7 separate regions of the Homo sapiens genome follow, and all the other regions are linked to region 5. The links are contacts of gene promoters, found by promoter capture Hi-C in blood cells and fetal thymus (Javierre and others, 2016). All regions are on one chromosome and are shown on one strand. The core of a region is centred on a gene start or on the middle of the fragment in contact, and the rest is flanking DNA. Distances in the headings are between cores, read along the strand shown. Region 1 has its middle 40 kb from the start of LINC00977. Region 2 has its middle 72 kb from the start of LINC00976. Region 3 has its middle 53 kb from the start of LINC00976. Region 4 overlaps CCDC26 (CCDC26 long non-coding RNA). Region 5 holds the start of CASC11 (cancer susceptibility 11). Region 6 has its middle 18 kb from the start of LINC00976. Region 7 has its middle 8.9 kb from the start of LINC00976.

Region 1 (3,626 bases), core at 897-3,396, 1.5 Mb before region 5:
ATCAATAAGTTCACTGTCTTATATGGAAGTGATTTGTGGTGCTCCAAACAATTCTAAGGGTAATATCAAAGATAACTGATCATAGATCACCATATGATATGGTTTGGATCTGTGTCCCTCCTAAATCTCACATCGAATTGTAATCCCCAGTGTTGGAGGTGGGGCCTTTTGGGAAGTGATTCAATTGTGGGGCAGTTTCTCATGGTTTAACACCATTCCCTTTGGTGTTGTCATGGCAATACTGAGTGAGGGAGTTACTGAGAGATCTGATTGTTTAAAAGTGTGTGGTACCACCCCCTTCCCCCGCTCTGGCCATGTAAGACATGCTTCCTTCACCTCTGCCATGATTGTAAGTTTCCTGAGCTTTCCCCAGAAGCCCAGCAGATGCCAGCATCGTACTTTCTGTAAAGCCTGCAAAATTGTGAGCCAATTAAACCCCTTTTCTTTATAAATTACTCAGTCTTAGGTATTTCTTCATAGCAATGGATAATAAACTAATACACCATAACAGATATAATAATAATACAAGTTTGAAATATTGTGAGAATTACCACAATGTGACACAGAGACACAATGCAAACACATGCTGTTGGAAAATGGTGCCCATAGACTTGCTTGGCACAGGGTTGCCACAGTCTTTCAATTTGTAAAACGTGACATCTGTGAAGCACAATAAAGCGAAGCACAATAAAACAAGGTATGCCCATATATTCTTTAAGTGTTTTTCTGTTATCCAAAAATTGCCTAGAGGAAGGGTACTGGGAATAGCTAGTAGATTTTCCCGCGTAACTAGCCTAAAGTTATTTTTAATCATTATAACATTTGCTCCTGTTTAAAGTGTTACTTTTAGTGTAGTTAAAAGTAGTTTAGTCTTTTACATAGAATATAAATAGTTAAAATTAACTCATATATATTCATTCGTATAATTCCAGCTCTGATACTTATTAGTTGGTTATTTGTTAGTTAAATTGTAAAAAGTAAAAAATAATGATAATAACCTTATTGTGAGTTTAAAAAAAAAAATCACTTGAAAGTACCTAACTCAGAGCTCAACATATGGAAAGCACTCAAAGAATATTTAAAAGAACTATAAAAATAGTGGAGAATAAAAAATATAATGAGGTTTCATTGTGTGAAAAATTTTAAGCTTCAATTTCATCATATGTATTAATCTTACTACCCTAGTTGGTCATGATCATTATTGCATGAGGTAATTTGAGATTCTGCAGGATACAAGTTTCCATGGAAACTTCCAATGTCCTAGTAACTTCTTAATGTTGCAACTCAAAATATGAAACCACTTGGAATGGATGGAAAGTTTCCCTGAAATTGCATATCTTCTTTTTTTCATTTATGAATTTATTTACTTTAAACCAGCTGCCAACTGTATATGCCTGGAATGCTATGTCTGCTACCCTTTATCTATTCAAAGCATGTGATTCTTTAGAAGTTTTCTGTGTCCCCTCAACTTATAATTTCTTTCTTTGATCTATTACGTATTTTTTCTAAAATGCTCATTTCCTCACACCTGCCATGGATGATTATTTAACTCTTCATACATTTATCCAACCACTTCTTTATTAAGAGATATGTATTGATTACTTAATTGTACAGGGTTCTCTGAGTGGGGAAAAGCTGAACAATGAATGATATGCAGTTGTATGGATATTATTTTTGTCCACTCAATTTGGGACATCTGTAGCCATTTTGTAACCACAAGAGATGTTAGCCTAAAGAAGAAGCCAAAACAGAGAGGAAGGCCGAGCCAAGAGCACCACAGAGTAATTCAAGGAGGGCCATTGCATTCAGCCAACTCTGAAATCCACCTCACCTCTCAATGTCTATTCCCAGGAACTTCACAAACCATTTCCATATTGTTTAAGCTAACTTCAGTTTGGATATTTGGGCTATTTGTAACCCAAGGTATTTTAATTGACATACCTATTCTTATCTTTCATGTGAGAGTCTAAGCTCCTGAAGAATAAAGAATGGTTTATGAGTTTACATTGGTGTAGAATGGTTTACATTGATTAGCACAGTTTTGAACTTATGGTGGATATCCAGAATTTGAATCCAAATATTTTTGATTTGATATTGCAGGAATTCCCTTTGCATTAAAAATTAATGATTCTTGGTGTTTTTAGGGTCATGCATCTTTCAACAACTGAAACTGATAAAGGTATTGACTGTGTGTGTGTGTGTGTGTGTGTGTGTGTGTGTGTGTGTGTGTGTGAGAATATATATATATACTCTTAGATGCAGCAAACCAAATAGTTATGTGAAATTTCAGGATTTTGTAATTCTCTCTGAAGCTATTCATTCACTCAAAGCTCTCTGCTAAGAATTCCTTTCTAAGTGATGATTTCTGTCTAGAAATTTACACTGGCTAATTCTCTATGATCCTCTTTAAAGCCCACATAATATGAAATATGACCTTCCAAACTGGTGTAAAAATGAGAATTGTTTTTTACTTACTGGTTGTCAACATTATTTATACCCATTGTCTACTATTAATTTGAGAGACAGGCCACTACTTTAGTGCTTAATACTTAATAAAATGATTTCTTTAATAAAGGGGGGGATTCCTCAAAATGTAAAATGACCATAATTTAAAAAATATTTTATTTTTCATAAATTCTGATATTAATAACAAGAATAGTAATAATGACAGCAATGAATATTTGCATAGTGGGTTTCAGTTTTCAGAGTTTTTTGTCTAATTTACTCCATTCTCAACAGCCTTGTGAAGTAGAAAGAGTGGATATTTGTTAATTTATGACCATCTAGCATCCATTAATTTGAGGGACCTAACTAGCCCCTGTTTTGTACATTCTCGGTGGGACTATAAATCAATGTCCACTGCCCTTCTAATAGAGAACTAGAGGTCCCTGAAGGCTAGTACACTCTCCTCCCTCCAGACTCTTTCTCTCACTGCTTCAAAGAAGCCCAGGGGGTTTTGATCTATGCTGAGTCAATCACACTCTTTCTCCCAGAACTTTGTGTGTGGAATCAAGTGACTCACAGCAGAGAAAAATGGAGACCTTCATTTTAGGTATGGCACTCTAATGAGACGATAGACTGGCTCTTGTTGCCTGGATCCTATTTTGATTTTTGACTCTGATTTTTGCTTTGTTTCTAAGCTTGGATACTAGCCTATCAATTTATTTTGTGAGATCTTTGTCAGCACTCCAATAAATTCCTTTTTTTTTTTTTAAGTTAACTAGATTCAGATTGGGCTACTGCCAGGAAAGAGATCTAATAATGGAGAAAACACAGACTTTTCATCTCCATATTATGTTTGAGAATGTGGAGTTGCAATTAAACAATAAAAAAGCCAGGCATGCCGGGTGCCATGGCTCATGCCTGTAATCTCAGCACTTTGGGAGACCAAGGCGGATGGATCACTTTAAGTCAGAAGTTCGAGACTAGCTTGGCCAACGTGCCAAAACCCCGTCTCTACTAAAAACACAAAATATTAGCCAGGCATGGTGGCACGCACCTGTAATCCTGGCTACTCAGGTGGCTGAGGCATGAGAACTGCTTGAACCTGGGAGGCGGAGGTTGCAGTGAGCTGAGATCGCCACCAGTGAACTCCAGCCTAGGCGACAGAGTGAGACCCTGTCAAA
Region 2 (3,680 bases), core at 775-3,274, 1.3 Mb before region 5:
TCCTAATCCCTGACCCACAGAACTGCAAGATGATAAATGTTGTTTTAAGTCACTAAATCTTGGAGTAATTTGAATCAGAACAATTTATAATTATTACAAAGTAAGCATGAGGAAGCTGGAGTAGCTATATTACCAATACATAAACTAGAAAAAGAGTTATAATGTAGGAATTATAAGAGGTAAAGAAAATCATTTCAAAATGATAAAAGGGTCAACCCATTATTCATCATAATCACAACTATACCTGAAATAACAGAGCCTCAAAATACCTGAAGCAAATATTGATAGAATTCCTGGGATAAATAAACAATTCCACAATCAAAGAAGACAATGTTAATACTTTACTCTCAGCAATGGATAAGACAACTAGAAAAAAAAAAAACAGTAAATGCAGAAATGATCTGAATAGCACTATCAAGTACAAACTAATTAAGACCTGTAGAACACAATGCCTCACCTAGATGCACAATATATGTTCATCAAGAAAGAACACATGCTTGACCACAAGACAAGTCTCAATAAATGTAAAAAAATGCAATCGTATTATTTGAGTACAATGTAATGCAATTTGAAGTCACTAATAGTAAGATACTTACAAAACCCCAAATATCTGAAAATTAATCAAAACAATTCTAAATAATCTACCAGTCAAAGAACAAAGCACAATGAAAATAATACTTTGAACAGAATTATAAAGAAAATATACTAAAGAATGAAGGATGACAATAAAGAAAAGAATAGTAAGAAGTTGACAAATATAAGTCCATACATTAGAAGGGTAAAGTCTAAAATATTCATGCTAAGTGTGGTGACTCACACCTATAACCCCAGCACTTTGGGAGACCTAGATGGTAGGATTGCTTGAGCCCAGGAGTTTAAGACAAGCCTGTGCAACACAGTGAGGCCCCATCTATAAAAATAAAAGACAAAAGAAAATTTAAAAATAAAACCATGAGCTAAGGTCCCACCCATAGAAATTAGGGGAAAATAAAAGCAAAATAAACTCCAAGTAAGTAAAAATAAATAAGTAAATATGAGCATAAATCAATCAAATAAAAACCAAAATAGTAGAGGAAAAAATAAGATGTGATTCTTTAAAGAAATCACTAAAAATAATAAAAAGTTAGCTAACTGATAAAGATAAAAAATATTGGAATGAAAGAGGGGTTATTACTATAGATCCTCCGGATATTAACAGAATAAGATTATTATTTAATAACTGCACCAATAAGTTTGACAAGAGGAAATGGACTAATACCTTGGCAAATATAACTAATCAAAACTGACAAATAATGAAACAGAAAACCTGAGTAACCTTATGTCCATTAAAGAATTACACACACAAGGACACATACATACTCACACACACAACTCTGGGCTCAGATGGTTTTAGTGGTCAATTGTACATTAGATATAATACATTAGAAAAAGCAGTATGAATCTTCCACAAATTCTTTCAGAAAATAAAAAACAGGTAGGAATACTTTCTCATTTGTTTTCTGATACCAGCATAAACTCATTACTAAAACCAATAAAAGCATTATTTTAAATATATACATAAATATCCCTCATGCTCTTGAATGTAAAACTACTTAACAAATATTAACATTAAGGGTTAGGTGAATGATTAGCAAATCATGATATTGCTTTTCTTATGTAAGCAAAATATTAAGAGTGGATGAGCACGAGTATGTCAGCCTGTGAGGGAAAAATCACATTCCTGTTTTCTTTTTCAGAATGTTATGCACTCGAAATCACATAGTACGTAGGTTTTCCAGACTAACTTCCTTGATTTCACAATATGTGTAAGAGTTACTTCATTTCTTTTAAATCACTGAATAGTATTCCATTGTGTGGATGTACCACAGTTTGTTTACCTGCTCACCTTTTGAAGGACATCTTAGTTGCTTTCAATTTTTGATAACTATTAATAAAGCTGCTATAAGCATTCATGTATGGGTTTTTGTGTGCACTAGATTTTTAATTCATTTAGGTAAATACCTAGAAAAGCAATGACAGCATATGCTTATGTTTAGCTTTGTAAGAAACAGCTAATCTGTTTCCCAAAATTTGTTTCCCCACGAGCAATGAATGAGAGTTCCTGTTGTTCCATATTCTCAGAGGTATTTGGTATTGTCAATATCTTTGATTTTAGCTGTTCTAACAGTGATGCAATGGCATCTCATTGCTGTTTTAATTTGCAATTCTCTAATTACATGTTATATTGAAGATCTTTTACATATGCTTAATCACCTTCTGTATATCTTTGGTGTGGTATCTGTTGAAGTCTATTGTCAAATTTTTAACTGGGTTGTTTGTTTCACTATTGTTGAATGTTAGGAGTTCTTTGTATATTTCTGATACAAGTCCTTTATTAGATATGTGATTTGCAAATATTTCATCTCAGTCTGTGGCTTTTTGTTCTCTTAAAAGTGTATGTCACAGAGAAGATGCTTTTAATTTTAATGAAGTCCAACTTAATAATTATTTTTTGTTTATGGGTCATGATTTTGGGTGTTGTATCTAAATAGCCATCAGCAAACCCAAGACTGTCTTAAATTCATTTCTATACTATTTTGAGAAATTTTATGTTTATATTTTACATTTAGAAAGATCTATGATCCATTTGAATTAATTTTTGTGAAATATAAAATGTCTGTCTAAATTTATTTTTTTGGCATATGGATGCCCAGTTGTTTCAGTACCATCTGTTGAAAAGGGTATTCTTTCCCCATTGAATTGCCTTTCCTCTTTTGTCAAAGATCAGTTGACTGTACCCAAGTGGGTCTATTTCAGGGTTTCCATTCTGTTCCATTGATCAATTTGTCTATTATTTTACCAATACCACAGTGGCTTGATCACTGTATTTTTATAGGAAATCTTGAAGTTAGGTGGTGTCAGTCCTCTGGCTTGTTCTTCTTCAGCATTGTGTTGGCTTCTGGATCATTTACCTCTCCATGTAAACTCTGCAATCAGTTTACTGATTTCCACAAAATAACTTGCTAGGATTTTGCTTGGGATTGCATTGAATCTACACATCAATTTGGGAAAAACTGACATCTTAACAACATTGAATCTTTCCAGAAACATATAATTTTTTGTTTAGTTAGTTCTTTGTTATCTTTCATCAGAATTTTGTAGTTTTCCTCATATAGATCTTGTACATATTTTGTTAAATTTATACCTACGTATTTCATTTTCTTGGGTGCTAATGTAAATGGTAATGCATTTTTTTTATTTTAAATTCCTTTTTTTCTTAGTTGGTTTATAGGAAAGCAATTGACTTTTGCATATTAACTCTGTTTCCTATAATCTTGCTATAATTGCTTACTAGTTCCTAGAATTTCTTTTTTATGTTGTTTTGTTGATTCCTTGGGATTTTTCTACATAAACAATTACGTCATCTGCAAATAAAGATAGTTTTATTTCCTTCTCAATCAGTTATTTTTATTATTTTTATGTTATTATTACATTGTTATTGTTATATTGTATTTATTGTTATTTTTATTGTTTATTTTCTTCTTATTGCATTAGCTGGGACTTGCCGTACACTGTTGAATGCGAGGGCTAAGAGGGGACATCCTAGGCTTGTTCTCGATTTTAAGGGAATGTTTCTAGTTTATGACCATTAAATACAATATTAGCTGTAGGCTTTTTTGTAGATGTTCTTTGTCAAGTTG
Region 3 (3,691 bases), core at 510-3,009, 1.3 Mb before region 5:
ACATACTGATTGAGCATATATTGTATGTATATGTTCATACATACAGTATGATTTGGAGGATACAAGTTTCTAGCTATAAGAATGCACTTCTATTAGGACTGAAATTATAATGAAATAAATCTCAAAAGAGTTATGATTATATCTTATAAATACCACAAAAGAGGAGAAATTATTATAGCTTTTGAGAGTCATGGAAGACTCCCTGGAAACATTGACTCATGATAAGAATATTCAAAGAGTTATCCAGGTAAAGGAGTTTGAAAGGACACTCCTCAAAGATGGCATGCAAGGGAATTCTCCATGACATGGAGAATTTAAGTACCTCAATTAAGTAATTGAAATGAAGTACTTGCCATAGTGACCTGGGTACCTTCTCTGGTGCCATCAGTCCTCCTATTAGGGCAGCTCATAATCCTGGTATCTTCTAGTCCAGTCCCCGGAAACTTCAGACTATTTCTGTGCTCAATTGACAATTTTTTCAAAGATTTTGTGGGCCACCAATGTATTGTTAAGCATAAAGCACATGGGAGTCATTCCAAGAAAGTAAACAAAACAAAGTGACATAAATACCAGTGTTAATGAATTCACCTTATGCAATTATGTTTCCCTGTTGAAGAAATAGGGTGAGGCCTTGTAGCCACCCGTCAAGCAGTTATTGCATGTGGGCTTAACTTTTTGGGTAAAACTTTTTTTTTCAGTAGAGGGCAATTTCCAGAAAGGAACTCATTTATGAGCCCTCCTCAGTCAACACACATGGTCTTTGGAGGAAAAAGCACCTCAGTCTGGAAAGGGAATCTGGGCAGTGCAACACGGGACTTCCTACAACTCTCATATTCCTTAGCCCTATTGAACCATTTAAAGATGCAAGTGTATAATCCTAATAGCATTTCAACCCTTGCTGAAATTAATTATTACATTTATTCTAGGAATGAAGCAACGATATCTCCTAAAACACCAGGGTAAGTGATGGGGAGACCACAAATTATATTATGTATCTATTGGGTAATATTTCGCACCCTTAAGGACAGAGACTAGTGAAGGAAGAAGAGAACTATTTCACCCCTACAACACCTAGGAACATCAGCCAAATGTAAACTGGTGGATCACGTCATTTTACAGTGAAAATAGCCCCTGATGTAAGGGGTCCATTAATGTAGGAGATACAAAATTACATCAGGAGATCTTGAGTTCCAATATCCCTTGACCACCATTCCCTCTCAATCCTCTGACCTTGAACATTTCTCTTCTAGTTATATTGAAAAGTATCCCATATACCTTATCTAATTTAATCTTCTCAACAGCTTTATGAGTTTGGTATTCTCCTTCTCATTTTACAAATTAGAAAATTACTGCTCAAATAGTTTAAGTGTATGTTATCCAAATGTACCAAGTGACAGAACTGGAACTTCCACACAGGTCTTTCTTGCCAACAAGCCATACAAAAGCTTTACCCTAAAATAAACTATCTCTGGAAGCTTCGAATTAGAATGCACCTCTAAGGGGTAAAACTTAATTCACTAATGAGGAAGAGAATTTTCTAGAAACCTCTCAGGGATGGAAAGAATTAATTCTAAGCCCAATTCCCTCAATATCTAAACATCTTGGAAATGAGATACTTTAAAGCTGTTTTTGTTCTCTAGGGTGCTATTTAGTGCCTGAAGAAATAATCCACTAAAAGTGTCTTACCTCACTAAACTACTAGTAGCTTTCCAACAAATAATCAAAACACTCCATGTGCCCAAAGATGAATTCAATCATCAGGCAAGCTACAGAGAATAAATAGAAATATAATTCTAAAACTTCATTATTGGAATTTAAAATAGCACTACTTTTCTTTAATTCCAGCAAAGCCTTTAAACTGATCAGGAAGCAGCAGAAATAAGAATGGATGGGAGTGGTGGATTCTTAATTGTAAAATTTTACTGCTAAAGAAAACCCTGAGGTTAGAGGTGAGATTATATAAATGCCAACTATTAACAAATATTGGTCTATGGCACACAAGACTAAGAATGGACATTGAAGGGCAACAGTGTAAGAAGCTTAGCTTTCCATCACAGTATCCTCTACCTCTCTATGAACTTCAGCTGAGAAGTAGAACCACTGCATTTCTGGTTATCAACTGGTGAGAGGATGCTTAGATTATTCAATGACATTTGGCATCTCTTAATATATGAGAATCAAGTCGATACAAACTAGAACTCTTGATGAATTCAACCGGTAGAATATTTTATTATTAGAGAAGTTGGTGAGTTGGTGTAATAAAAATTATACAGTCTTTAGAGTCCAGCCTTTGAGACATGCTTAATTTCTCTTAGCCTGAGCTTTCCTGACAGTAAAGGGAAGGATGGGGAGCAGAGGCCATCCACGTTGCTGAAATATGGGGATAACTAAATGAAGTGATGCATGACCACAGTAAATGTTCTGTTGTTTTTATTTTCCTTTTTCATGATGAACTTGTGCTCAAGATTTGCTAAAGATAATGATAGATTAATTGTGAACAGCCTGAAGTATCAAGTAGGTAGGACAAAGCAGTAAGTGTATGTAAAAACATCCTGTTTAATCATTCAGAACTATATTTTCAAATAATTTCCCCCAGAAAATTGAAAAATATCAATAGTTAAATTTGTATCACTTTTATAAGGTTGAGTGAGGTTGAGAGAAAAGTCAAATTTCATTGGAGAAGATAATATATGTGTATATAAACTGCCTAGTGCAGAGCCAGTGAAATTGTAGGTGTTCAGTAAATAGAAAGTCTTATTATTTTTATGTATGTGCTTGATTTTCTCCAGCTCAGTGGCTTCTGGATATTTGAAGTACCCAGGACACTTGTTCCTGACTACTTCTTATTGGCACAATCTAACTCCCAGCTCTCCTATTTCTGAACATTTTGGTTCTCCATCTTAATTAATGCTTCCTGTCTATACCCCGTTGAACCGTGATTCCTTAACTTAACATTTAATTCAATCGTCCCTTCTGAGTATTATTCCTGGCTTCTGCTGTCACTTTACAACTGACATACTTCATACAAGGTGACCCACACTATGCCTTTCTATAATTTCACAGGATCATCTCTGACATTGTCAGCTCCCAGCTAGCCACTAACTTAATGTGGAAAGTATATTTAACCTTTGATGTTTCTTAGAAGAAAGGAGGACATTATCCTACATGTAGAAGAAGAAAAGAGAAGCAATTATTTACCAAGCACTCTACATTCAGTGTGATAGGCACACGGTAGATTCTATTATATTGGTGAATTGCTTCCAGTTCTTTACACCACACTTATACTAAAACAGTACATCCAAGTTTCCTGCTATGTGACTTTCTAGAACTTTCTACCAGAGTTGGTAGAATATATTCTCCACTTCATTGATGCGGGACTTGGTCAACAGGCTACTTTGGCCAGTGAGATGTTAGCAGTTGTGGCATGGTCAGATGTTTTAAGTGCATTTTTGTGGCTAAACTCAGCCTCTTGCACTTATTCGTTTATAACGGAACAAGCATCCTTAGGAACTGCTGGTGCTATAAGAATGATGAGGTGACATGAACTACAGCTTGCTTTATAGTTGGGTTGAAGAAGCTTAGAAAATGTTCTAAGTCCACACGACTGGTCATTTGTACCATCATGAGAAGAGTGTTATCATCTAAATTCTATTTTCAGATAGAAAACAAATACTTCAATTAGAAACAGTTA
Region 4 (4,001 bases), core at 105-2,604, 1.6 Mb before region 5:
TTATTTGAAGGCACAGTGATTATTGCCAGTTGTCAAGGAAACTTTCCTCCTCCTGACCAGTCAATCAGTATCACTTAAGCTTTTGTTCTAACAAAAACGGGTTTCCCTCTATCAAGTACACACCTGATATATGCTTTTTCTTAATGTAAATATTAATAGATGGCCAATTGTTTCCATCATTCAGAGGCCTCCTCTGTTTAAACATTCTCTGCTGAATTTGTTTATTCCACTGTAAAAACCATGGCAACCACAAGGAAAAATGTTTTCCTGTTTTTCAGAGTGTTGGACTATTAGAACACTAGGGATCACTAGAAATAAAAAATACAACTTAGAACAAAGTCTTAACTCCATGTCAGGAAGATGGAGTATGACCAAGCAGCTGTGTAGCAAGTTCCAGGGACCACAGCAGAATAGGCTCTGTTGGCCGGGTGCGGTGGCTCACGCCTGTAATCCCAGCACTTTGGGAGGCCAAGGCGGGCGAATTATGAAGTCAGGAGATCGAGACCATCCTGGCTAACAGGGTGAAACCCCACCTCTACTAAAAATACAAAAAAATTAGCCGGGCGTGGTGGCGGGCGCCTGTAACAATCCCAGCTACTTGGGAGGCTGAGGCAGGAGAATGGCTTGAAGCCGGGAGGCGGAGCTTTCAGTGAGCCGAGCTCGCACCACTGCACTCCAGCCTGGGCAACAGAGCGAGAGCGAGACTCCATCTCAAAAAAAAAAAAAAAAAAAAAAAAAAAAAAAGAATAGACTCTGTTGTCTCTACCCAGCTCTGTCCCTGGATGTGCCCAGTCACATCCCTTTTCTGGGGTTCATTTTGCTGTTCAGTAAAATAGGAAGGCTGGACTAGAGTTTAAAGGGCTTTCTGGTGTTTCAGAAAAAGGTTCTCATGAAGATCTCTATGTAGATTATTGAAAGTAATCTTAGAAAAAACAATGTTAGGCAGCAGATACTTGGTTCTTTGGTCCATCTGGGCTGCTATAGCAAAAGTAACATACCCTGGGTGGCTTATAATCAACAGAAATTTATTTCTTAAGTTGTGGAGGCTGGGAAGTCCAAGATCAAAGTGCCAGCAGATTTGGTGTCTGGTGTTTTCTGGTTCCTAAATGGCAGTCTTTTTGCTGCATACTCACAAGTCAGAAGGGGAAACAGAGCTCTCCAGGGTATCTTTTATAAGGGCACTAATCCCATTCATGAGGGCTCTACCCTCATGACCTAATCACATCCCAAAGGTCTCACCTCCTAATACCGTCACATTGGGGGTCGGGACTTCAACATATGAATTTTGAGGGGACAATATAGTCAGTCCGTGGCACTTGGGCACCATATTGAGAGAGTTCACAGAACAGTGCATGGGTTTTATCTTAAGTACTATCTAGTTGCAAAATGCAGTACTTAGGACATTATAAAACAGAATTGTCGATTTTCCAGATCCATTATGTTTTAGAGAGTTGTCTCCTAACTATTTCCCTTTCTCCTGGAGAGTAGCACAGTTCTTTGGGCTACAAGATGTCTAGGAGAGATACTAATGCTCCCCCATGCTGCCTTTCTCCTCTTTCCTCTTTCCTGCTCCTCAGCACTATGAGCATAGGAGGGCCGTATGTAACACCCCTGGCTTCCTTGGAGAAGCTAGCTAAACAGAAGGAGACATTTTACTCTTGCAGAATTTGGCTTCAGTCCTCTTGTGGGGATTGAAGTAGAATCCAGGCCTATTCATTCAAATAGCATTTTCTGCCTTCATCCTAGCTTCAGCCACCTTTGTCTCTATTTCTATTCTTGCCTGGGGCTCCCTTGAAAGCAAACAAAGGCTGCAAAAATATGTCTAGAAATATTTTCTTAATTATTTTTTTCTAAGGAATATATTTAGGTCATTTTACTATTCTTCTTGGCCTTCAGGGCCATACACACAGACATACACGCACGCGCGCGCACACACACACACACACACACCCACACATATATAGCTTTACCAAGCCACCTATCCCATTTATGTGAAGTGAGATCGGGACTTTGCAAGAACTGAAAGATATGCAAGCTAGTTTACGGCAAAGCCAGACACTACACTGATGGAATCAAAGAGACCCAAGAACTGAAATGTCAAAGCCCTGGGAACACTTTTCATCACACCTCACTTACAGTGTCCATTTCTTCAACTCTAACATAAGCAGATTGTGTTATATGCTCTGTCAGGTTCCACTCAGTTTCCACCTTTTGTTGATTTATCTTAATCAACATTTCTTAAATAATGATAAATCAACTTATCTTAAATAATGATACATCAAGAAAAGCAATATGATTTAAGATATATTTAGTGTGTCTGCTTTTTAAAGGACTGGTATAAATACCTCCGGGATATTTAAAATCCCTGAAGACATTGGCTCAAAGTATTATTATTTTCTCTAATTCACTAAGATTAGGGAACAAAGTGTACTTGTGGTATTTTCGAAACTGACTGGTTGTGAAATCACAGAATGATGGTCAAAACTGTTTTTTGCCCTTACCTGTGCCTCTATTTCTGGCTTCTCAATGATAGAGCATAGTCCCAAGAAACCAAAAGGGAATAAAACAATCCACTTGATGAAAATGACACCATCACTCTGAATGTTCAAGGGTCTTCAATAAAGCTTGTGGCTGAAAACCAAGCCCAAAACTAGGTTTCCTAGTTTTTCCTCTAAATATAAACTTCAGGATCTGACTTGAGACTATTTGGATGTGCAACCTAGAGTCTGTGTGTTACCCACAGGCATGGAGGGGCTCCGGCATGGCTCATGCCCATAGTCTTTGGTAGAATAAAGTAGAAAAGAGTAATGAGTATGAGGCAGAGGGAGAGACTGGGGTGAAGAAGAAAAGAAGTGCCCTTCTTTATGGCATTGGGAGAATGAGGTATGAGAGTCCCCCTATTCTTCAGCTTGGAATTTGCTAGACCTGGACTTGAGTGCCTGTTCCACCATTTAAGAATTAAATAAAGTAATGTGTATTACTGCTTAGCTAAGGAACAGGCATATGGTAAGTTCTCAACACATGATACCTGCTTTTATGATTATTTAGGCAAGGTGTGTCACAGGCCAGGGTTTCTGTAATCTCACTTCCAAATGAGGTGATTCAATATTCACTCATGTCCTTCCTAAATCTAAAACAACTAGATCTCCTGCTGTGTGATAGAATGCCCAAACTTATTTGACCACAGAATATTTTAAAAACTATGAAGTATTAATAGAATCAACAGTCATTCTTGAGGATATATATTTTCGATGAGTAATAAACACTAAAATATGTTGAGACGTGTTGAAAGGATGCATTATGGGACCTGTGATGATCATGTACACAGTGCTTTCAGCAGTTCCTTCTGTCACACAGCAGGGGATCTCAGGCAACTTATTCTTTGGAAAGCACATTATTTCTTATAGTACAATGTCACATAATTATATATGTGTATTTAGGTTCTTGTGCTCTTAAAATATAATTATATATTAGAAGAAAAACTTGCTAGTGTTAATTTTATTTTGTGAAACATCTATTAACAGCATATTCCACAGAAACTAGTTGGCCAAACCTCACATCCTGCTTCAGCTTAAGTGGTGTCTTTTTTTTGTGGTGTGAGTTTTTGACAGAAACTCACAGCAAGAAATTTATTTTACCTTGCAATCTAGTGTACACATACATACAAATATATATAATCGAAATAAAGTACTTCATGGTATAGTATCCTCTTCTAAAGCCAGGCAGTTGATTTTTTATTCTATTCTATTCTATTCTATGCTATGCTATGCTATGCTATGCTATGCTATGCTATGCTATGCTATGCTATGCTATGCTATGCTATGCTATCCTATCCTATCCTATCCTATTCTAATTTTCTATTCTAATCTTATCTAAAGTAATGGTGATCAAAGCCCACTGCAGTGATTTCCAAGCCCAGTGATGGGAAGTGCTCCCAGTTTGAAAAAGACCTAGGGATTAAGCTAGGAAATGCACCAGGTTTGTAGCGCTCCTTTTCCCAG
Region 5 (4,128 bases), core at 34-2,533:
TGTGTCTGCCTGTTCCAGAGCTGGGCTAGGGCGAGAGGGAGGTTGCCTGCTCTCTGCCAGTCTGTACCCCACCGTCCCACCCCCACGCCTCCCACACGGAGTTCCCAATTTCTCAGCCAGGTTTCAGAAGAGACAAATCCCCTTTGCGCCCTGTGGCGCCGGTTTGCAACAGTCTCGGGCTGCCGGGTTTGGGAGAAATCAAAGGTGCTAGACGGGAGAATATGGGAGGGGCAGGGGGTACCCGAACCGCGGGACCGGACTTCCTAAAAGGGGCAAGTGGAGAGCTTGTGGACCGAGCCGGGGGAGTCAGCAGAGACCCTTGTGAAAAAAACCGTTAACTCTTTCCTCCCCGGACAAACCGGACGTTTAATTCCTTTCCAGGTCCTCTTTCCCCTTTTATTATTGGAAATGCGGTCATGCACAAAAAATGCATCGATTCTGATCAAAGAAGAGGAGAGGAGTATTACTTCCGTGCCTTTTTTTGGGGGGGGGGGAGTCTTGAGCTAATTAAAATTTGGCTGCCTTCCAGGCATTAATTTCCTAGTTCACTGACTCACAATTTTTTCTGAATACTAGTGAAAGTGCACTGTATGTAACCCGCAAACGTGTATTCACATTTTATTTACGCTTCGACTTAGCTAGTTGCCCAGCCCCACACATGATTTGTTTGCTCCCTGAAATGATCTATATTTAATATATAATGTATATTCCCTCGGGATTTTTTATTTTGTGTTATTCCACGGCATGAAAAACAAAAAACATTCTTCTCATCCTTGGTCCCTCACCCAAAGGCATTTTAAGTAAACTTTTCTCTCCCTCCACCACCTCCAAAAGAGAAAACAATTCGGGGGAAAGGGGTGCGTGTATAGCATGTACGCTGTTCAAGATGGGTTATTACCCGTTGAGTTTGCAGCTCAGCGTTCAAGTGTTAAGTGAATATAGTAGCTTCCAAATCCGATGCACTGCACAATTCAGCTTTAAGGATTGCAAATTACTCCTGCCTCCAGGCCTTTGCCGCAAACGCGGGGAGCAACCAATCGCTATGCTGGATTTTGCTGCAAAGCGTCTTTCCCTCCGCCCCCTCTCTGGGCAGCACCCGCGTTCAGGTTTGCGAAAGTAAAGTAAGTGTGCCCTCTACTGGCAGCAGAGATCATCGCGCCTGGATGTCAACGAGGGCGGGGGTCAGGTGGGGGCAGGAGCAGGAGCGTCCGAGGTGCAAGGTTTCCAGCGGGGGAAGGACAGGCGGTTCCTTAAAACAAGTTTCCAGCCACCTCCTTGTTATTCTTTCAGGTTGGCTGCAGAAGGTCCGAAGAAAGAGGAGTTACTGGAGGAAAAAGTGGTTCAGAGGTGACTATTCAACCGCATAAGAGATGGTGAAAATTAACCTATCACCACTGCTAATGAACATCACCCTATGGAGAACCGGTAATGGCAAACGTGAAATAATTCACAAGTACATAGACGAAAAAAAAATTCCAACAAACCCTAAAACGGCCAAACAAGCTTTAGCCCCCACGTCTTAGAAACTCATCATCTTTTTTAACCACAAAATTTGAAAGCAAGACACTGGATTTATTGGGGAAAGGGGAGGCACAGCAGAAGGTGATGGGTATTTGGTTTGGCCTATTATTATTAATTATTATTCTTATTATTTTTGAGACAGGGTCTCCTTCTGTCACCCAGGCTGGAGTGCAGTGGCACAATCAAAGCTCACTGCAGCCTCGATCCCCCCGGGCTCAAAGCAAACCTCCTACCTCAGCCTGATACCCCAGCCCAGTAGCTGGGAGTGCAGTGCACCACCACACCCGGTTAATTTTTTAAACTTTTTGTAGAGAGGCAGTCTGGTCATGTTGCCCAGGCTGGTCTCAAACTCCTCGGTTAAAGCGATCCTTCGGCCTTTGCCTCTGAAACTGCTGGGAATACAAGTGCGAGTCATCGCTCCTGGCCTTGGCTTATTATTTTTACTTTTAAAATATTGGGCTGGTGAATAATAAGTGATTTTTTTTAATAGCAAGAAGGGGTATTTGAGATCTCATAGAAAAAAAGTGTGAAGGAATAGGAGCATTTTATTAAAGGTTTTAATACTAAAATGAGTATGCAATAAGGTTGAAGTAAATGTGAAGGAAATTTACCTGGCACGTGTCCCTGGTCAAGTAGGTTTTTACGGGGCAAAGAATCCCTGACGGTGTCTGATCACTTAGATGCCCTAAGGACTTCTGGCAGTGGAGGTTCCTTCCCGCAGGAGCCTTGTAGGCTGATTTCCCAGGAATCTGGCACTTTTGGCATTACTCTAATTGAAGCTAAATGAGTGCTCTCCACAGGGGCATGCACTCCCCGCCCCTCAAAGAAAACCCTCAACAACAAACAAACAACAATGGCAAAACCAAAAGTAGGTCCAGCTTGACCTCATAGGGTAGTTTTTGAAAGTTGCTAAAGATGGCGGATATACCACATCTTCGGATCTGACTCTCAAATTATGCCAGTCCAGTGTAGGGCATGTGAACCCCAGGCAGATATAATGCCTGTGGGTTCAGAACTTAACCTCACTCTCCCTCAGGCTGGTGACATCACCTGAGGTGTTACTTTCAAGTAACAGCTTGGAGTTGTTTTGTGCCATCTCCATTTTTACATGAGAGAAAACAAAGCCAGACCTCAGCCAGGTTAAAGGACATAACTGATTTTCTTTTAGTAATTTTTGAGACATATTTGACCTAGAATAGACATTTGCTGGGTTGAAAAATGGCTGAGATTACAACTAGTATCATGTATAACTACCAAAGTGATACGTGTCCATTGGAAAAATCCATTGAGAAATAGAAAAAGAAAGGAAAAGGCCGTGTGTGGTGGCTTATGCTTGTAGTCCCAGCACTTTGGGAGGCTCAAGTGGGAGCATCGTTTGAGGCCAGGAGTTCGACAACAGCCTGGGCAATGTGGTGACGTGCCATCTCTAAAAAAAAAAAAAGAAAAAAAAAAAAAGAAAAGAAGAAGAAGAAAGAAAGAAAAGAAAAGAGAGTTTTTTCTTCTTTAATTTTTTTTTTAAGACAGGGTCTCACCCTGTAGTCTAGGCTGGAAGGCAGTGGAATAATCATGACTCACTGCAGCCTCGACCTCCCTGGACTCAGGTGATCCTCCTACCTGAGCCTCCTGAGTAGTTGGGTCTACAGGCACAAACCCCACGCTTGGCTAATTTTTGAATTTTTTTTTTTGTAGAGATGGGGGTCTCACTATGTTGCCCAGGCTGGTCTCAAACTCCTAGACTCTGGTGATTCTCCTGCCTCAGCCTAAGTGATTCTCCTGCCTCAGCCTTCCAAAGTTCTGGGATTACAAAGGCATTAGCCACCATACCCAGCCTCCTCTCCTTCTTCTTCTTCTTCTTCTTCTTTTTTGTTTTTTAATAGAGGTACATTTTTGGTAGAGATGAGGTCTCACTGTGTTGCTCAGGCTTGGTCTCCAGCTCCTGGCCTCAAGCAATCCTCCGGCCTGAAGCAATTGTCCTGCCTCAGCCTCTGGAGTAGATGGAGTTACAGGCGTGAACCATGACACCTGGCCTGAAAGTGGTTCTTAATACTGACCAGTCAGAGGTAGTTGATGAAGTTTATCTTTTAGGAAGACATTTTAGGGACATCTTTGGTCTTTCACCTCAATTTTTTTTGGAAGACCATGGAAGTTGCCTTCTGACTAATTGCCCCTTGCTTGTTGCTCTAGCAGCACTCTTTTTTGTTGGCTCCCCCTGTTATTTGGAGCTGCTGCTGAGTGGGTTGGGCTTCTAAGAACAGGCAGGTCTCCTGGAGGGCCGGGGTTGGGACTCTAGGTCAACAGTCTGATGGGGCGGCCTCACAGAACAGAATAGTGTGTAGCTAGAGGAAACATTTTTTTTTCACATAGGAAGGCACAAATAATCATTCATTCTTGGCCATGCGCCTGTAATCCTAGCACTTTGTGAGGCCGAGGTGAGAGGATCATGAGGTCAGGAGTTCAAGACCAGCCTGACCAACATGGTGAAACCCCGTCTCCACTAAAAATACAAAAATTAGCTGGGGGTGGTGGAGCGCACCTGTAGTCCCAGCTACTCAGGAGGCTGAGGCAGGAGAATTGCTTGAACCCGGGAGGCAGATGTTGCAGTGAGCC
Region 6 (4,004 bases), core at 645-3,144, 1.2 Mb before region 5:
CTTTAACACTTCTGTCCCATCTCTGAACCTTTACTAAGCTTTCCTTTTAATTCCAAGGCATTGATATCTCTAGAATCAAGACCTGATCAACAGTGAGAATAAATTTAAAAAGTTTTATGGGTCTGTCTTATTACCATGTATCTGCAACTTTTTGCAACTTTATGTCATTTACTCATCTGATGGACAGTGAAAATCTACTATATGCCAGACTTAAGGTGCATCAATTTGGGGAAAAATCGCTTATCACTCTTTAAGAATTTCAAAATCTAGCTGGAGAGACAGATACATGCATGCAGACAGAGAGAGAGAGAACTAGAGAGAAAATTTTAATGTACGAAAATAAATGCTATGATAGAGAAAAATGTAGGGAGTTGGTATGAATTCAGAGGTTCAGAAGAGGGGACAATGAATCCAACTTTGAGTCAAAGTAAGATTAGGGTGCCATAGAATACAGAAAGCTTCTCGGTGGAGCTGATAGGAGCTGAGTACTCAAGCACATGGGTAGGACCAGTCCACACCAACAGAGCAAAGCTGCACACAAGATGAATCATGTGTGAGAAGCAGTTCATTGGGATCTTCAAGTAATTGAGGAGTGCTTATTCTACTTCCCATTTCCAAAGGACGAAAAAGTGACTCATCACCCATCATAGAGAAGTAACAATCTTATGAAAGTTCATCTGGTTCATGTGCTTAGCTTAACAGATGAACCATGGTAAGTCCTGGAGAAGGAAACTGATTTGTCCATGGAAATGCCTCACTTAGCTTCCAAGCCCAGTCTCCTGAGCACAAATTATTTTACTTTCTTCAGCAGAATCAAACAAGTGAAATGATCTGGATTCACTTCCTATGCAGGGATAACTTTAGGACTTAGCACAGGTACCAGGAAGCTCTGAAATAAGTCAACTTGACTGATGGTCCTGGGTAGTAGAGTCACTGAGCTTTCATAACTAGATTCTTACCTTAAGCCCCAAATATACTTCAGCCTTATAGTGTAACTTTTATTAATTCAATTGCTTATTGCATAAATATTTAGTGTCACCAACTATGTCAGGCGCTCTACTAAGCACTATTGCTACAGTGATAACTAAGTTTTGTTCCTGTCATTTAAAGAAGCACAGTATCTGCTTTATTCATCTGAGCCCAATACCCTATCTTAGTTTCTTAGGAAGCTTCTCTGTCGTTGGGACATTTCCAGGTCCTGCTGAGGCCATGAGGAGGTTTCAAATGCCGTTCTAGAACTGTGGATCTTATGGTCATATTTCTATTACCCTCTTCTAAAGTTCTAAGTTCATTTCCTGTTCCTGACCCCACTGATACTACATTTCACCCATTTATTGATGTTTCTCTCTATAAACCAATCTGGATTTCCTCTTTTTACATTTATCCCTAGGGACCCATCTAGCTTCCAAATCATGACCTTCCTCAGATTGTTTCATTCTATTATGAACCAATACCCAGTCTCAGGAATCAAGATCACTGGGTATGTTCAATGCAGTTTGGGATTATTATTTCATTGAACATCTATTTACTGAACACCTGATGCGTGGCAGGCAAGTGTTTGCTACATAGCTTTGTGCAGTTATTTATTCTCCCTAAACTTCAGTTTATTTAGCTGGAATAATAATACCTGTCTCTTGGGTTATAAAAATTACATGAGATTATAAAGTTATCTTAGGTTTAGTTTCCTTGAAGCAGAGCCTGATATGGGGATTCATGCACATGTAACTAACTGAAGGAGTACCCTCAGGAGAAGCTGGTAAACGAATGAGGAAACAAAATAAAGAGGAAGGAGATATATAAGAATGTAGTCTCAGATAAGGTCTAAATAAGTCTGATTTTCTGGGGCTTTCTGGAACATAAGATGCACCAAAGAATCTGCCCTGACTTGAGGCAAGGTCAGTGGTAGTGGAGGGAGTCATGGTGTATTACAACCCCAGAAACTCCAAGGAGAAGCATTTTCAAAAGATCAAGAGGAATCCTCTGGAGAAAGTTGCAAGTGAAAGTTCTGAGCTGAAACACCCCAAGCAATTGAGGAATAGGTACACCAATCCTTCAGGTAAAAGGGATTCCAGGGGACTTGAGAGTCCAGCAATATCATTTGTGATAATAATCTTACAATGGAGACAGAGAAGGCAATGGGTAATTACAGATCAGTGGAATTGACAGAGGTAAGCATGAGCATGGGTGTTTACAGCCCTGGGTGCTAACCAAGGGTGAAGAGAGGCTTTCTGGAGGATGATGGAAGTGAATAGAGCTTTGGAGGTTAAGTAGGAGGTGGCAAAGCAAAATCACATGTCAAACATGGTCCTTGACAGGAAGGCTCTGACCAAGGCCATCATCCAAAATAGACTGCCTGTTTCATAGTCCTACCTGACAGGGAGACAGTTGGTGGTTTCTATCAGGAGAAAGCAAGAACTTGCCTTCTGAGCATCATTATTAAGGTGTAGCATGATAAACCAAGGTTTGACGTGGTGGATCTTGAGTGAAGTTTATTTCTTCCCAGGCAGGCATCCAGACACTGTTCATGTTAATACTCCTTCAGCAGGGCCCAAGAAGAGCACACCACAAATGCATAGATTAATATCAGCATGTGCTGGGAACAGCTCCAAACCAAGCTTTCAGCAGTTTGTAAAGATATGTATGAGGCACAAAGCAAAAGATACAGATTGAACTGGCCTGAAAGAGGAAACAAATGTATTGTTCTTGCAGGGTGTTGCCATTTGATTTTGTTTAGGGGCCCCTCAGACAAATAGGTGAGCTAAGAGCATCTGATGATTCAAAAAGCAGACTCAAACTGAGGACATTTTGCTAAAACCCCAGCAATTCTATGGATAAAGCTATGACACTTTAAAAAATGAGAGCAAAAGGGAGAGAGATTAACTTCAATCTGCGATGCTTCTGACTGGGCAAAAGGCACTGATTCATCCATGAGATTGCTAATAGCAGGTGTCTTTGGTGATTTATGCCAACAAACAAAGTTGTTGTGGGCCCTAATCCTTTTCCATCTGTTCTATAATAGGGAGTGGAAACAGGAGAGGTTATGAATAATTCTAGAGCTCTGGGATCCTTTTCCCTCTGAAATGTGGAAGCCAGCCTTCCTCATTACTTACCTCATGATCTTTAAGAGGTGATGGGGCTTTCTGGGGAGGCAGATTACCGCCCAGATACAGATTCTCTATCCTCTTTTGTAATCTATGCTGGTGATGCTTTCTGGACTTGAAATGAAGTAGGGACATAAAAGAAAATCTTTCTCTTCCAGTTAAAATCCATATAGTGAAAAAGTATTTTGACTGCTTACCCTGAGTCCACCATCAGCTGAGAAGGATCTCCAGGAGTTTAGGTTTTCTTGATAAGAAAGACCGACAAAGATAGTAAGAAGAACACCAAACATGCATTCATAGAGCATAGGTACCCTCCTCCTGTTTGTGATTTCTCTGTGGACATAAAATGGCTGTGGGTCCTTAAGTGAGTTACTACCTCCTCTGACCATCACTTTCTTCACTTTTAGAATGAGGATAATATCTGCATTTCCAGGTTGGGAAGACAACATTAGATAATTTTGAAAGTGGTACATAAATGTTAGTTTCTCTTCTATTATTTTTAGGCATAAACATATAAAAATACATGGAAACCTAATGGGTAGGTAACTCTGAAGTGAGCTGCTGGGGTGGTATTTGAGCTGGGCTTTGAAGAAGAGGTGGGCTTCCATCAGGTAGAGATAAGAGATCAGTGCAGTTCAAATGAGAGCAATCATCTGCTTTAGTTTCCTAAGGCTGGTGTAAGAGATGTACCTCAAACTATTTACATGGTGAGTTTGCTTAGGAAAGCATTTCGTTTGAGGTGTCTGTGGGAATTCTGGGAATAGGTGTCCAAGGTACAATAGGTTGGAGATATATAGTTTCCAGAAAAATCATGATAGTGAAACATTATATATGGATGAGGTCTCAGGACCACTTAGCAACTAGGAAAATATAGGTCTGTTGCTTAAACAATAGTAACTTATT
Region 7 (3,712 bases), core at 53-2,552, 1.2 Mb before region 5:
TTGGCCATGATAAATAGTTTTTAGCAGATTTCAGGGCAATCATTATTCCCATGTCTTAGTTCACTTTGAAGTTCCTATCAATGAAGAGGGGGTCCCTTTATCATTTAAATCTAGTGATATTTGATTAATGTTTCAATTGTTCAAAAGACTTTCTTCAGAGCTCATTTGTTTGATTCTTACAGCAACACTTCTAGAAGAAAGGTATTATTATTCTTCTTCTTTTCTAGATAAAAATACTGCAGATCCAAGATGCACCACAACCTGTACAAAGTAGCGTACCCAGCAAGTGGCAGAGCTAAGACTAGCTCTAATTCCAGAATCATCCAGGATTTCTAAAGTGATCATTTCAAGGTTATTTTATCTTCATCTCATCTCTCTAATTGCTCATTGATACCTAGTGGGATATACTCTGAATCTGATGTGATAGTCATTTTGGCTGTGGAGGGAGAGTTCCTTCTCATGCACATACATTTACTATTTATAAAACTAGTGTGGCTAGGCTGACACAGCCAGGGTCATGATTTCTCAGGAAAATGGCAGACTAATAGAGAAAAAGGTCATAAATATCATCAAATACAAGGCCTGACATTTACCAAGGACAATTGTTTTATCATAAAAGGCTCGGGTTTTTTGGAGTTTTTCCATTAAGCTTCCACAAAGCATCTTGCCTCTTACCAAGGAGGAGGAAAGGAAAACAAAGTGTGTACGTGTGTGTGCGGATGGGTGAAAGGTGGGTGGGGAGTAGAGGTAACAGATGAGAAGAGGAAGACCAAAGGAGACATTCCTGGGGTTTCAGGAGTAAACTGAGCTCCTAATTCTTTGTGACCAGGGGTAGGATTAAGAGTTCAAAAGGGCAGGTCATACAAGGGCAGGGGGCCAGGCTGGGTCTTGCAGGGATGTGACCCAGGAAATGCTGGCAGGCTGGGCTCCCATCCTTCCCCAGCAGGCCTCCAATTAGGATTTAATGGCCAAATGTGGAATGCATTAGGACATCTGAGCAGAAAGTCTGTGTTCAAAGGAGCCGAATCTTTTTGGCTAAGTAGAAAAACATTCCTCCCTGGCCAGTTTCCCCCTGAACCTTGCTAATTCTGGGGACCTCACTGGCAGTGGTGCCTTACAAAGCATCATTTGCAAGTGGTCTAGGCATAAACATCCTCTTTTCCTTGAAGATGACATAAAGAGAAAGCAACAGGCCCACCAGCTCTCTCTGGTATTTGGGGCAGTGTGAGGAATATAAACAAATGATTGACCCAGAATTCTTTGTGTCTGTGCATCTGGTGAATACATATCCAATTGAAAGAACCTAAGTAGACAATGCATGTATGTCAATATACATGGATATATCCAAGATAGAGTTTAAATACATGTGTACCTCAGTGTCTGCATGTATTTATTTATTTGTTACTGCTATATTTATTTATTTATTACTTTATACCCCGCCTTGTCAATAATCCAAGAGCTTGCCTAGGGTATATTCTTTGTGTTTGTGTGTGTATGTGTGCGTGCGCACATTGATACAAGTGTGTATAGATGTAAGTCAGTAAAAAGAGAAGGGGTAATACACAAATGTACAGAGGTAAATGTGTGAATCTGAATCTGTGTAGATCTTACACCTCTGAGTGTGACTAAATATACGGATTTGGGAGGGTATGTTAGTGTTCACATAAATGCTTCTGGAAGTAAGGATAACACAGTGGGGAAAGGTCTGCTCCGTGCAGATGAGCATGTGCAGTTGAGTATTCTGAAAGTGTGTATGCACATATGTATCAATGGATGTCTCTGTGGTGACATATTTTGCTTTGCATGTGTTGTTTTGTGTGACCATGAATGATAAATCACATCATGCACGTAGTATCTGTTAAAAGTGTGTATACATGGGTGTGTATGGTCCTTTTGATGTCTTTGTGTGCCACTGTGAAAGGGTGCAAATAATGTATGAATCCAACAAAGCTTGGATATGCATATTTATGATTATGTGTAATGATTTAATATGTATAAGTCATGAATGTGTGACTACATGAATATTTATACCTCTGGCAGGGCCTGTACTGGGGGTGTAGATTGTGGAGGACATGCCTAGTTTGGGGAGCATGAGATTCTGGATGTATCTGTGCAGTGAGTTAAAGAACATGCCTGTATCTTTGCTTGTGATTTTCCCATCCTACAACACACAAGGATGAATACCTAAATTTCAGCTTAGAAACGAAGCTGCTTCTGCTCTGGTCTAGGCCAGCTGCTCTTTTGGAGTTTAAATAAATGACACACGAAAATATGTCCCATTTCCGCCTAACAATATGATAATGTGCTTGTACACACACACACACACACACACACACACACACACACAAACTATACACTACACTTTCTTTGGTATAAAGCAAGTGATCAAATGAATTTTATCTTGAGCATTTTAGTGCTATCTTATTAGCCCTAAATTTGGGGTGACCAGCTTATCCATGTATGCCTTGGACTTTCCTTGTTTTAGCACTGAAAGCCCCCCATTCCAGAAAACTCGCCAGTCTTGTACAAACCAGGTCAGTTTGACCCCTACCTGAATTAGTTGGTGGTAGACTTCAGAACAGGGAAACTGAGTCTGGGCCATTTTTCATGCATGGAGCTCCCGGCCTCTTAAGCACAACATAGAGCATAAAAGCATGGAAATTTGCAGCGTCACAGATCCATTTTGGAACTCAACTGTATCTCTTTTCCAGATGTGTGAACATGGCAAATTTACTCAAGCTTTCTGAGCCTTAGGTTTCTCATCTGTAAAGTGAATATAATAACTGCTTCACAGGGTTATTTTACAGATTAAATGAGAACATATAGATGCAAAGCATTTGACTTACTACTCTGCATATAATATACTCTCAGTAAATAAATGCTACATTGTTATTATTCATGCATTCTTACAACATTTTTATTGAGCAATAACTACAGACAAAGTGTCTGCCAGAGGCTAAAAATATAAATATGCAGGAAACATAACTCCTGTTCTAAGACGTCTTCAGTGTACTGTGGAAGATATTAGTTAAAATTTATAAAAAACAATTACATTTTACTAATTGACAGGAGCTTTAAAAATTAAGGAATGCATCTGTATTATGAAGGGTAGTAGTTGTGTACTCCCAGTAGTTTTTAACAAGAAGTTCTTGTCATCTTCCAGAAGCAACAGCTGTTCTTGAGTAATAACTGTGGGCCTGGTGGTAGGCTGGCTGGGTGCCAGCTATACTCCACAGAGCAAAGTCACCCTTCCATGGAAAGACTGCCTCCAAAGAATGAGGAAGGACAGATGGCCACAGATTGTTCTGGAACATAACCCCAAGAGTCAGACTGCAAGAGAAGACTGAAGAGAAAATTTGGAGGTTGGGAGGGGCGGATTTGCAGCCAGTGCAGCCAGAACAATGCCTGATTCATGATGCAAAAAGCGAGGCTGTGTTCTTAAGGAGCTAAGTATTTTGCAGCTGGTGCCTTGCTCTGTACTAGGCACTGGGAATAGATGAAGGTGGCATGTCCACCATCAAGGTGCTCAAGGTGGCTTTAGAGACACAACATTTGCACAAATAATTGTTATTCCAGGTGAGGTATGCTCTAATTAAGGTAAAGTAAGTGGAACAAACTAACCTCTTGAGAGTTGTAAAAGGGTTGTCAGAGTCAAGAAAATAACAACTTACGTTTACCTTATAGGATGGATTCAGGATGCAGAAAATTGGGA

What was found. The method cuts DNA at HindIII sites, captures the fragments that hold promoters and counts their contacts. A CHiCAGO score of 5 or more calls a contact.
Region 1: a fragment that was not itself captured here is called in contact with the fragment with the promoter of CASC11 in region 5 in 1 of 17 cell types (megakaryocytes); the score reaches 5.4 in megakaryocytes.
Region 2: a fragment that was not itself captured here is called in contact with the fragment with the promoter of CASC11 in region 5 in 1 of 17 cell types (M2 macrophages); the score reaches 6.9 in M2 macrophages.
Region 3: a fragment that was not itself captured here is called in contact with the fragment with the promoter of CASC11 in region 5 in 1 of 17 cell types (monocytes); the score reaches 5.1 in monocytes.
Region 4: a fragment that was not itself captured here is called in contact with the fragment with the promoter of CASC11 in region 5 in 1 of 17 cell types (fetal thymus); the score reaches 5.2 in fetal thymus.
Region 6: a contact is called between a fragment that was not itself captured here and the fragment with the promoter of CASC11 in region 5, in 1 of 17 cell types (monocytes). The highest score is 8.1, in monocytes.
Region 7: a contact is called between a fragment that was not itself captured here and the fragment with the promoter of CASC11 in region 5, in 1 of 17 cell types (monocytes). The highest score is 5.3, in monocytes.

What each region holds. Positions count from the first base shown.
Region 1 is chr8:129,279,798-129,283,423 of GRCh38, reverse strand. No RefSeq gene overlaps it. Among named protein-coding and RNA genes, the nearest start is that of LINC00977, 40 kb to the right of the region's middle. The HindIII fragment of the contact is 1,993 bases long and covers 1,150-3,142 here.
Region 2 is chr8:129,036,557-129,040,236 of GRCh38, reverse strand. No RefSeq gene overlaps it. Among named protein-coding and RNA genes, the nearest start is that of LINC00976, 72 kb to the right of the region's middle. The HindIII fragment of the contact is 7,682 bases long and covers 1-3,680 here.
Region 3 is chr8:129,016,666-129,020,356 of GRCh38, reverse strand. No RefSeq gene overlaps it. Among named protein-coding and RNA genes, the nearest start is that of LINC00976, 53 kb to the right of the region's middle. The HindIII fragment of the contact is 564 bases long and covers 1,478-2,041 here.
Region 4 is chr8:129,366,158-129,370,158 of GRCh38, reverse strand. All of the region lies in intron 3 of CCDC26 (CCDC26 long non-coding RNA), which reads left to right. Among named protein-coding and RNA genes, the nearest start is that of MIR3686, 120 kb to the left of the region's middle. The HindIII fragment of the contact is 2,545 bases long and covers 82-2,626 here.
Region 5 is chr8:127,731,122-127,735,249 of GRCh38, reverse strand. It overlaps CASC11 (cancer susceptibility 11), which reads left to right and starts at 1,283. Exons shown (of 4, transcript NR_117102.1): 1 at 1,283-1,425. RefSeq lists a silencer at 1,089-1,208, a cis regulatory region at 1-2,533 and an enhancer at 2,113-2,614. The HindIII fragment of the contact is 10,989 bases long and covers 1-1,505 here.
Region 6 is chr8:128,945,535-128,949,538 of GRCh38, reverse strand. No RefSeq gene overlaps it. Among named protein-coding and RNA genes, the nearest start is that of LINC00976, 18 kb to the left of the region's middle. The HindIII fragment of the contact is 1,446 bases long and covers 1,172-2,617 here.
Region 7 is chr8:128,973,065-128,976,776 of GRCh38, reverse strand. No RefSeq gene overlaps it. Among named protein-coding and RNA genes, the nearest start is that of LINC00976, 8.9 kb to the right of the region's middle. RefSeq lists enhancers at 442-1,218, 571-1,416. The HindIII fragment of the contact is 1,301 bases long and covers 652-1,952 here.